2 separate regions of the Homo sapiens genome follow, and region 2 is linked to region 1. The links are contacts of gene promoters, found by promoter capture Hi-C in human tissues and cell types (Jung and others, 2019). All regions are on one chromosome and are shown on one strand. Each heading gives the region's core, a stretch centred on a gene start or on the middle of the fragment in contact. The rest is flanking DNA. Distances are from core to core; before and after follow the strand shown. Region 1 holds the start of ABCC1 (ATP binding cassette subfamily C member 1 (ABCC1 blood group)). Region 2 overlaps ABCC6 (ATP binding cassette subfamily C member 6).

Region 1 (4,605 bases), core at 2,106-4,605:
CCCACAGCCTTCAAGTGATTCTAGTGCCTCAGCCTCCCTAGTAGCCGGGACCACAGGTGCCACACCACCATGCCAGGCTTTTTTTTTTTTTTTGGTATTATTAGTAGAGACGGGGGTCAATCCATGTTGCCTAGGCTGGTCTCGAACTCCTGACCTCAAGCAATCCGCCTGCCTCAGCCTCCCAAAGTGCTGGGATTACAGGCGTGAGCCACTGCACCCGGCCTGCTTTTTTTTTTTTTTTTTTTTTTTTTTTTAATGAACTCACAAAAAGTCCCAGGCCCATTTTTCCAACCATCATGCCAATATCAACCACAAAGCAGCGCCTCCTACCAGTCCCACCCCCATGAGAAAAGAAAGCCAAGGGCTGCTGTGACCTGTCCTCAGGCCCTATTTTCCGTTTTGATAGCAAAGTTCTCCTTTTCTCTTCCCAGAGCATCTGTCTGAGTAAAGGTCAACAGAACACTTATCATGGGCCATTTCCATCTTCTGGGTTTTCTGGACATTTCCTGCGGCTCAGAGGCAGACAGTAGCCCAGAAACAAAGCTCTGACAGAGTCACCCGAGGCCCACTGACCTTGACTTCTAAGCACATGACCTTGGTCACAACAGGAGCCAGGCACGGGTGCCTCACTGCCTTTTCACAGCCCAATCCCATCTCCACCAGCTGAAGAAAAGGGGAATCCAAAGGAAGAACAAGGAGCTTAAAACACACAACTTCATCTTTGGAAAAAATAATATTTAATACTAACCATTGTTTATCTCCGTGCAGGGCACAAGCTGAGCCACTTACAAGATTAACTCATTGACCCTTCGCAACAACCCAAGAAGGCTGCCACATTTTTGGCTCCTGTCCAATTTTAGAGATGAGGAAAGTGAGGCACACAGAGGGAAAGTGGCTTGCTCAAGGTCACACAGTTATCTGACTGCCTGGGAGGCCAGTCGCTCCTGGCCTCGGACACGCTACCTTGAAAAACACAAAAACAGCCGGGCACAGAGGCCCATGCCTGTAATCTCAACACTTTTGGAGGCCAAGGCAGGAGGATCGCTTGAGCCCAGGAGTAGGAGACCAGCCTGGGCAATATAGTGCGAATCTGTCTCTATAAAAAATACAAAAATTAGCTGGGCGTGGTGGCACACGCCTATAGTCCCAGGTACTTGGGAGGCTGAGTTAGGAGGACCACTTGAGCCGGGGAGGCAGAGATTGCAGTAAGCTGAGATCGTGCCACTGCACTCCAGCCTGGGTGACAGAGCAAGACTCTGTCTCAAAAAAGAAAAAGAAAAAAAAAAGAAAAGAAAAAAGCAACAACTACCTACTTTCTAGCTTTCAGTTAATTATATTTCAATTTTCCCACTCAGGCCCCAGTTGCCTCCTCTCAAATTCTGGTTCCAAGGCACCTCCAACAAGTCTTGGAATCCAGACAGCAGAAATACGCAAGGTCAAACACGGGGATGGGGTACCTACCAGAGGCAGAGATCAGCTACAATTACCCCCAAGCAAAACCCAACCACCTGGCAATTTCTGTGGCAGAAAGTCCTTAACGAAGGAAAAAATAAAAAGAAAAAAGAAAATAAAAATTTTAAAAAATATTACAACTGGACTTCGTGAATGAGTTTCTTAAGATAAACAAAGCGCACCCCAAACATACTCATTAGCCATCAACTACCAATTGCCATCAATAAAATACGTCCTGATACAAAACCTCATGGATGTTCACCCTGTTTTGCCCCCTCCTCAATTCAGAAGAAAATAAACAAGAGAATATTCTGGAATTCACAGCAACACAAACCCAGATCACCATGTGAATCTTTGCAAAAAATAATCTTGCTGTTACTACACCTGGCAACAAGGAAGCCACAGGTTTTCCCCTGCTAAAGAAAGTCCATCTGCAAAGAGGCTCCAATCACCCCCAGACCCTCAAGGCAAAGTCTGTGTTCTATTTCCACCCCTGGGGTTACTCTCCAACCCCACTGGCTTAAAATGGGAGATATATCAAAGTGTGGTAGGTTATTAAACACAATGATACCCTACTAAAAAAAACAAACAAACAAAACCAAACCCTCCAATGGGGCCCTGGAGGATGACTTTTCAACACTCCAAATGCAACCCTCGAGGAAAGGCCGGCAAAACAGGACAAGAAAGTATTTTTGGAAGCTGATCACCAGCTCCTAAGAACCAAGGCTGTTTCTCCTGATTCCTAAACAAAAGAGGAGAGAGAAACAGTCGTGTCCAGATTTGCCTACTGCGTTCACCAACAATCAAGACAGCACGAGACAGAAGTGCCTGCCTTCCTGGAACAAAGAGGCAAATCGCATTACGGAGAAGCTGAAGCCCAAAAGACTGGGGCTTAAACCACAGCAAGTGGACTCCAGACACCCAGTCAGGCTCCGCAGGCCACGTTACAGAAGAAAACTTGCCGGGGTTAAATCTAAGGGGCATCCCCAGAGAGGAGCTCCACGTGTTGCAGGGAAGGGAGGGCAGGACCACAGCTACCAGGGTCCTGGGCGTCCTCAGCTGCACCCCAAGTCTGCCCCGAGCCGAGGGTCAGGTAGGGCACATCAAGGGTGGACATCCCCCTTCTTCCCTGGTTCCCCCAAACTTCCCCCGCAGTATCTAAGTAGAAAGAACAAAAAAAACAAAGCTAGGTAACCACAGAAGAGTAATGTGGCTTGTACGACAACTTTGGGGAGACAATGAAAGTCCCTTTCTACAATCTAAGCCCCTCCCCAGCTCACCCCGTTGGTCACGGAGTATTTTTCGTGAAAAGGGGGGACCCTAACCACAAAAAAGATGGGAAAACAGAAGCAGAGAGACACCCCTCTTCCCGCCCCCCATCTCTAGCGTCCCCTTCCCTGGAAGGTTGTTTTTACAGACGGGAACCCCAAAACAGGAAGGCCTCCTCACGGCGGCTCTGACCCGACCCGACCCTCCAAAACCCCAGGGCTGGGCACGCGGCCCCCCACGCTCTGCTCCGCAGGAACTGAGTCACCCAAGTTTCCCCCATGCCTTGCACCCCCGAAAGGGGCTGGGCCGCGGGCGACGTGAGGGTCCCGGGCCCCCGAGGCCGGCAGCAGAGCGGGGAGCGGGGTGCCCCGGGCGGCTGCGGGCCCGGTGCTTTCCCTCCCCGCCGGCCTCCCTCCGTCCCGCCGGCCTCACGCGGCCCCCGGCACGTACCCAGAGCGGGTCGGAGCCATCGGCGCTGCAGAAGCCCCGGAGCGCCATGCCGGTGGCGCGGGCGGCGGCGGGCACCGGGCGGCGGGTGATCGGGCCCGGTTGCTGGCGCGGGCGGCGGCGGGCACCGGGCGGCGGGTGATCGGGCCCGGCTGCTGGCGCTAGCGCTGGCGGCGGCGGCGGCGGCGGCGCAGGGAGCCGGGGCCGGGGCCGCAACGCCGCCTGGTTGGCCCGCGCGTCACGGGGATGCGGCGGCCCCGCCCCACCCCGCCCCGCCCCGGCGCCCGCTCACCTCGCGCGTCTCGGCGTGGGCAGCCGGACCAGCCACCTCTCGGCGCCCCGGGCCTGGACCCCGCGCCACCCCCACCCCAGATCCTCCAAGGCTTAGGCCCACCCGCTCGCGGACGGGCCTGGGGAGCGTTGGCTCGCCTTCCGGAAGCGCCTGGGATCTTTGGGGCCACACACCCTGCGACCACTTTTCAAATGCTGTTTAAGGACAGTATCCGTCACCAGGGGAAAATAACGTGAACGGAGCCCCCTACCTGCCTGGAGTGTACCGGGCGCCTTAACTGTGCCCTCATTTCATCCTGTAAAGTCTCCACGTTCATGAAGGAAGAAACCCAGGTGCAGAGAGGTTGAGTGATTCCCTCTGCCCAGGGTCACCTGGCTAATCACTTGCAGGGCTGGGATTTGAACCCGGTCCGCTGACTCCAAAGCTGAGTCACACAGAAGGAGGTGAATACTGTTATTCACCTACCTTTTACAGATGGGGAAACTGAGGTTCAGAAAGGCGAAGTGACTTGCCCGAGGTCACACAGTTAATAAGGAGTGAAAGTGGAAGTGAGATTCAAACCCGTGAGCAGCCTGATTCCGGAGCACTGATGACCCAGACGGCGCCAGTCTCCATCACTAACAGCTGTTGACCTCACCTGTGTGCAGAGCGCCTTTGCTTCTTCTCAACCTCTTTAAGCATCACTTAGAAATAACCAGGTTATTGATCCTCACCTCAGAGGTAAGGAAACTGAAGCCTGGAGACATGATAATCGTAGGCCAGGCATGGTGGCTCGTGCTTGTAATCAAGCACTTTGGGAAGCCGAGGCGGGCCGATCACATAAGGTCAGGAGTTCAAGACCAGCCTAGCCAACATAGCAAAACCCTGTCTCTACTAAAAACACAAAAATTAGCCGGGCATGGTGGCGGGCACCTGTAGTCCCAGCTACTTGAGAAGCTGAAACAGGAGAATCACTTGAACCTGGGAGGCGGAGGTTGAAATGAGCTTAGATCACACCACTGCACTCCAGCCTGGGCAACAGAGCAAGACTCTGTCTCAAAAAATAATAATAAAAAAAATTAATATGCATTCACAGTGACAAGGCTTCCTAAGGCTGTGTTCTTAGCAATTTACACAAATTAACTTGTGCAATCCTCACAACCCCA
Region 2 (3,796 bases), core at 237-2,736, 210 kb before region 1:
CCTGTCTCTGGGGAAGACTCCATATATGAGGTTTCACCCAGCTGGACATCTAGGGGCTGTTCCTAGAATTCCCAGGGACAGGGACACTACAGTCTTTCTGGTATCTCCACTAGTGTCTGTCTCTAAATGTTCACATCAAAGTTCTTTTTTTTAGAGAGACAGAATCTTGCTCTCCTGCCAAGGCTGAAGTGCAATAGGTGATCATAGCTCCCTGCAGCCTTGAACTCCTGGGTTCAGGTGATCCTCCTACCTCAGCCTCTCAAGTAGCTGGGACTACAGGCACGTGCCACCATGACTGGCTAATTTTTAAATTTATTTTTGTAGGACAAGTGTCTTCCTGTGTTGCCCAGGCTGGTCTCGAATTCCTGGCCCCAAGTGATCCTCCCACCTTGGCCTCCCAAAGTTCTGGGATTACAGGGCATGAGCCCCTGTGCCCCACGGCACAGTTAAATATTAAGGGCCAGAGCCTTTCACGCGTAATGTTTTTATCCTGCCGTAATTTCTTCCTCTCCAATTATCTGGAAGCCAAAAAGGCATTGCAAGGTCTCAAAGGCTATTATATGAAGCTAGATTCTTTCAATTGCTGGGACCAGCAACCAACTAAAATTAGCTTAACCAAAAGAATAGAATTTAATGGCTTATATTTCCTTGGGGGCATGGGCCCAGTTGTCATCAGGACACAGTGACTCTCTCCATATCTTCACTCAGTGCTTCTCAAAGTGTGACCCCAGGACCAGCAGTAGTATCACCTGGGGACTAGTTAGCAAAGTACATTCTTAGGCCCCAGCCCAGGACTACTGCCTCAGATACTATGTGGGTCGGCCCATGAATCTAGGTTTTAATTAACCCTCCAAGTAATTCTGATGTACACAAATGTTTAGGAACCACTGGCTTACCTCTGGTCTAATTTTGTACACGCTCTCTTTCCAGGGCAGGTCTTATGGCCACTAGCTATCATATCATCTCACCTTAGCAACTCAACATGCAAAAAACGTTTCTTCAGCTCAGTAGTCATATATTAATCCCAGGGAAGGTTCTGATTGGCCCTTTGTGGATCATGTGTCCATCTCTGAACTCGTCACAGTAACTGAATGGATAGTAGATTCTGATACACTAGGCTGCATCATGTGACCACCTCTCTGATCAGGTCCCATGATTGACAGCACCCCAACCCAGCCCTTTCCCACAGGAAACCAGAAGTAGAAAACATGGTAGTCAGATAAAAACCATGGCTAGGGCTAGGCATGGTGGCTCACACATCTAATCACAGCACTTTGGGAGGCTGAGGTGGGCAGATCACTTGAGGTCAGGAGTTCGAGACCAGCCTGGTCAACATGGTGAAACTCCGTCTACTAAAAATACAAAAATTTAGCCAGTGTGGTGGCGCATGCTTGTAATCCCAGCTTCTTGGGAGGATGAGGCGGGAGGATTGCTTGAGCCCGGGAGGCAGAGGTTGCAGCGAGCTGAGATTGCACCACTGCACTCCAGCCTGGGTGACAGAGAGAGACTCCATCTCAAAAAACAAACAACAAAACCCATGGCTACCACTGTCCCCGACAATTGTCCTAGGTCTTCTCTAAGTTCACTTGACTCCGAGGATGGGCTGTTTCTGTCTCAAGCTTTAGAGTCAAGCAAAGATGGGTTTAAATCCAGGCTCTATCACTTACTGTGGCACTCAGGACAGCTGCTGAATCCCCCGAGCCTTGGATGTTCTCACCACTAACTGATGAATGACGCGAATGCTCACTCTGCAATGAATGAGACACTGTGTGAAAAGCCTGGCACATACAGTTGGGTGTTCAGCAAATTCAGTTCCTCCCTGCCTGCCTGTCTGCCAGCTGCACCCAACCTGCAGCTGCAAACCAAATAACGAATATTTTCTGCACATCACCTGGCATGTAACCCTTGGGTTACATGAGTGAAACTGACTTGGCCAACTGCCTTCATTGCCCCTTACAGTTTTGTTCTCCCACTGACCAGCCGTAAATGAAGTAGTCGGCCTCAGTGCTGGGAAGTGAGACACTTAAACTAAATTGGTGGTTTCTCAACCCTGGCTGTCCCTTAGAATCATCTGGAAGGCTATTTAAACAGCACCAAAGTCAAGGTGACATTTCCAGAGATTCCGATTCAGTCATTCTGGGGTGGGGCATTAGAGGTTTTTGAAGCTCCCCAGGTGATTTTCAAAAAAACCATAGAACTCTGATTCTGCAAGGAAATGAGAACCCAGAGAGGGCAAGCAACTAGCCCAAGGTCACACAGTAAGCTGTTAACAGATCCTGGTCTGGAATCCTGTACTTGGGGCTCTCTGTGCTTCTGGAAACTACCTCTCTATGTCTGTGGCTTCTCCTCTTCCCTCTCCCATCCATCCTTCTCAGAGCCTGTATGTGGTTAGCTCATGCCAGCTGAGACGCTTGGAGTCAGCCAGCTACTCGTCTGTCTGCTCCCACATGGCTGAGACGTTCCAGGGCAGCACAGTGGTCCGGGCATTCCGAACCCAGGCCCCCTTTGTGGCTCAGAACAATGCTCGCGTAGATGAAAGCCAGAGGATCAGTTTCCCGCGACTGGTGGCTGACAGGTAGGAAGAGCCAGGGCAGAGAAGACCTTGCAATTCATCCATATCCTTAGAGGGTGAGACCTGAGGTCATATTGTATGGTAGAGAGGTCACCCAGAGAGTCAGGGACATAGTTGAGGCTAGATCCCACAGGCAGTCTATCAGTTCTCACCGTGGGCAGATGGAACATGACCGAGAGATTCTCAACAGCAGGTGGGCGGGGGGTACAGGAAGAAGCTTCTGTTGCCAGGCAACTGGATCAACCTCTTTTGCCTTGGTGATAAAGCAGCCATATAAGCATCCTCAGCCATCTTTAGGTACTAAGCAAGAACAAGAACACAAGCTTTAAGCACAAATAGACACAGGTTCAAATCCCAGCTCTGCCACTTACCAGCTGGTTGATTTCAGGCAAGTTACATAACCTCTCTGAGCCTCATTTGTCAAACTGGGATCGTGCTCATGGAGTGGATATGAGGATTAAATACAGACACTCATAGGTAAGACCTGTAACATGCTTACTGCATGCCTGGCACTGTTCTGAGCAATCTATGTAGATTAATTTATTTAATTCTGCTAACAGCTTCACCAGGAAGAAACTGTTCTATAGATGATAAATCCTAGGCACAGTGAGGTTTGGAAACTTGTCCAGGGTCTCACAGCTAATACTGGCAGAGCCAGGATTTGAATCCAAGCAGTCTGGTACCAGAGTGTGGAGAGGGTCAAGTACACACTAGGTGCTCAATACATGTGAAGTCCTTTTTCCTTTCATCTCAGGTCCCCAGCCAGCTGGGGCTGTGTATTAGTCCATCTTCACACTGCTAAAAAGAACTACCTGAGACTGAGTAATTTATAAAGAAAGGAAGGTTTAATTGACTCAGTTCCACGTGGCTGGGGAGGCCTCAGGAAACTTACAATCATGGTGGAAAGGGAAGCAAGGCACGTCTTACATGGCAGCAGGAGAGGGAGAGCATGAGGTGGGAACTGCCGCATCCTTTTACGCCATATGATCTTGTGAGAACTCACTATCTCGAGAACAATATGGGGAAAACTGCCCCCATGATCCAGTCACCTCCCACCAGATCCCTCCCTCCACATGTGGGGATTACAATTTGAGATGAGATTTGGGTGGGGACACAGAGCCAAACCATGGAGGCCATGGTTCAGGCCAGGGGAATGGCAGGTGGACATGGCTTGGCAAATTCCAGGGACAGAAAAGCAGCCACACAGGGATGCTCTTCAGAACA

Evidence for each region. The method cuts DNA at HindIII sites, captures the fragments that hold promoters and counts their contacts. A contact is called where the count stands out against the background at its distance.
Region 2: a fragment that was not itself captured here is called in contact with the fragment with the promoter of ABCC1 in region 1 in 1 of the 25 tissues and cell types used here (lymphoblastoid cells).

The regions. Positions count from the first base shown.
Region 1 is chr16:15,948,366-15,952,970 of GRCh38, reverse strand. It overlaps ABCC1 (ATP binding cassette subfamily C member 1 (ABCC1 blood group)), which reads right to left and starts at 3,355. Exons shown (of 31, transcript NM_004996.4): 1 at 3,172-3,355. The coding sequence starts at 3,219. It overlaps LOC107984869 (a long non-coding RNA gene), which reads left to right and starts at 3,800. Exons shown (of 3, transcript XR_001752339.2): 1 at 3,800-4,180. The HindIII fragment of the contact is 39,892 bases long and covers 1-4,605 here.
Region 2 is chr16:16,161,772-16,165,567 of GRCh38, reverse strand. It overlaps ABCC6 (ATP binding cassette subfamily C member 6), which reads left to right. Exons shown (of 31, transcript NM_001171.6): 24 at 2,376-2,575. Among named protein-coding and RNA genes, the nearest start is that of ABCC6, 60 kb to the left of the region's middle. The HindIII fragment of the contact is 5,227 bases long and covers 1-3,796 here.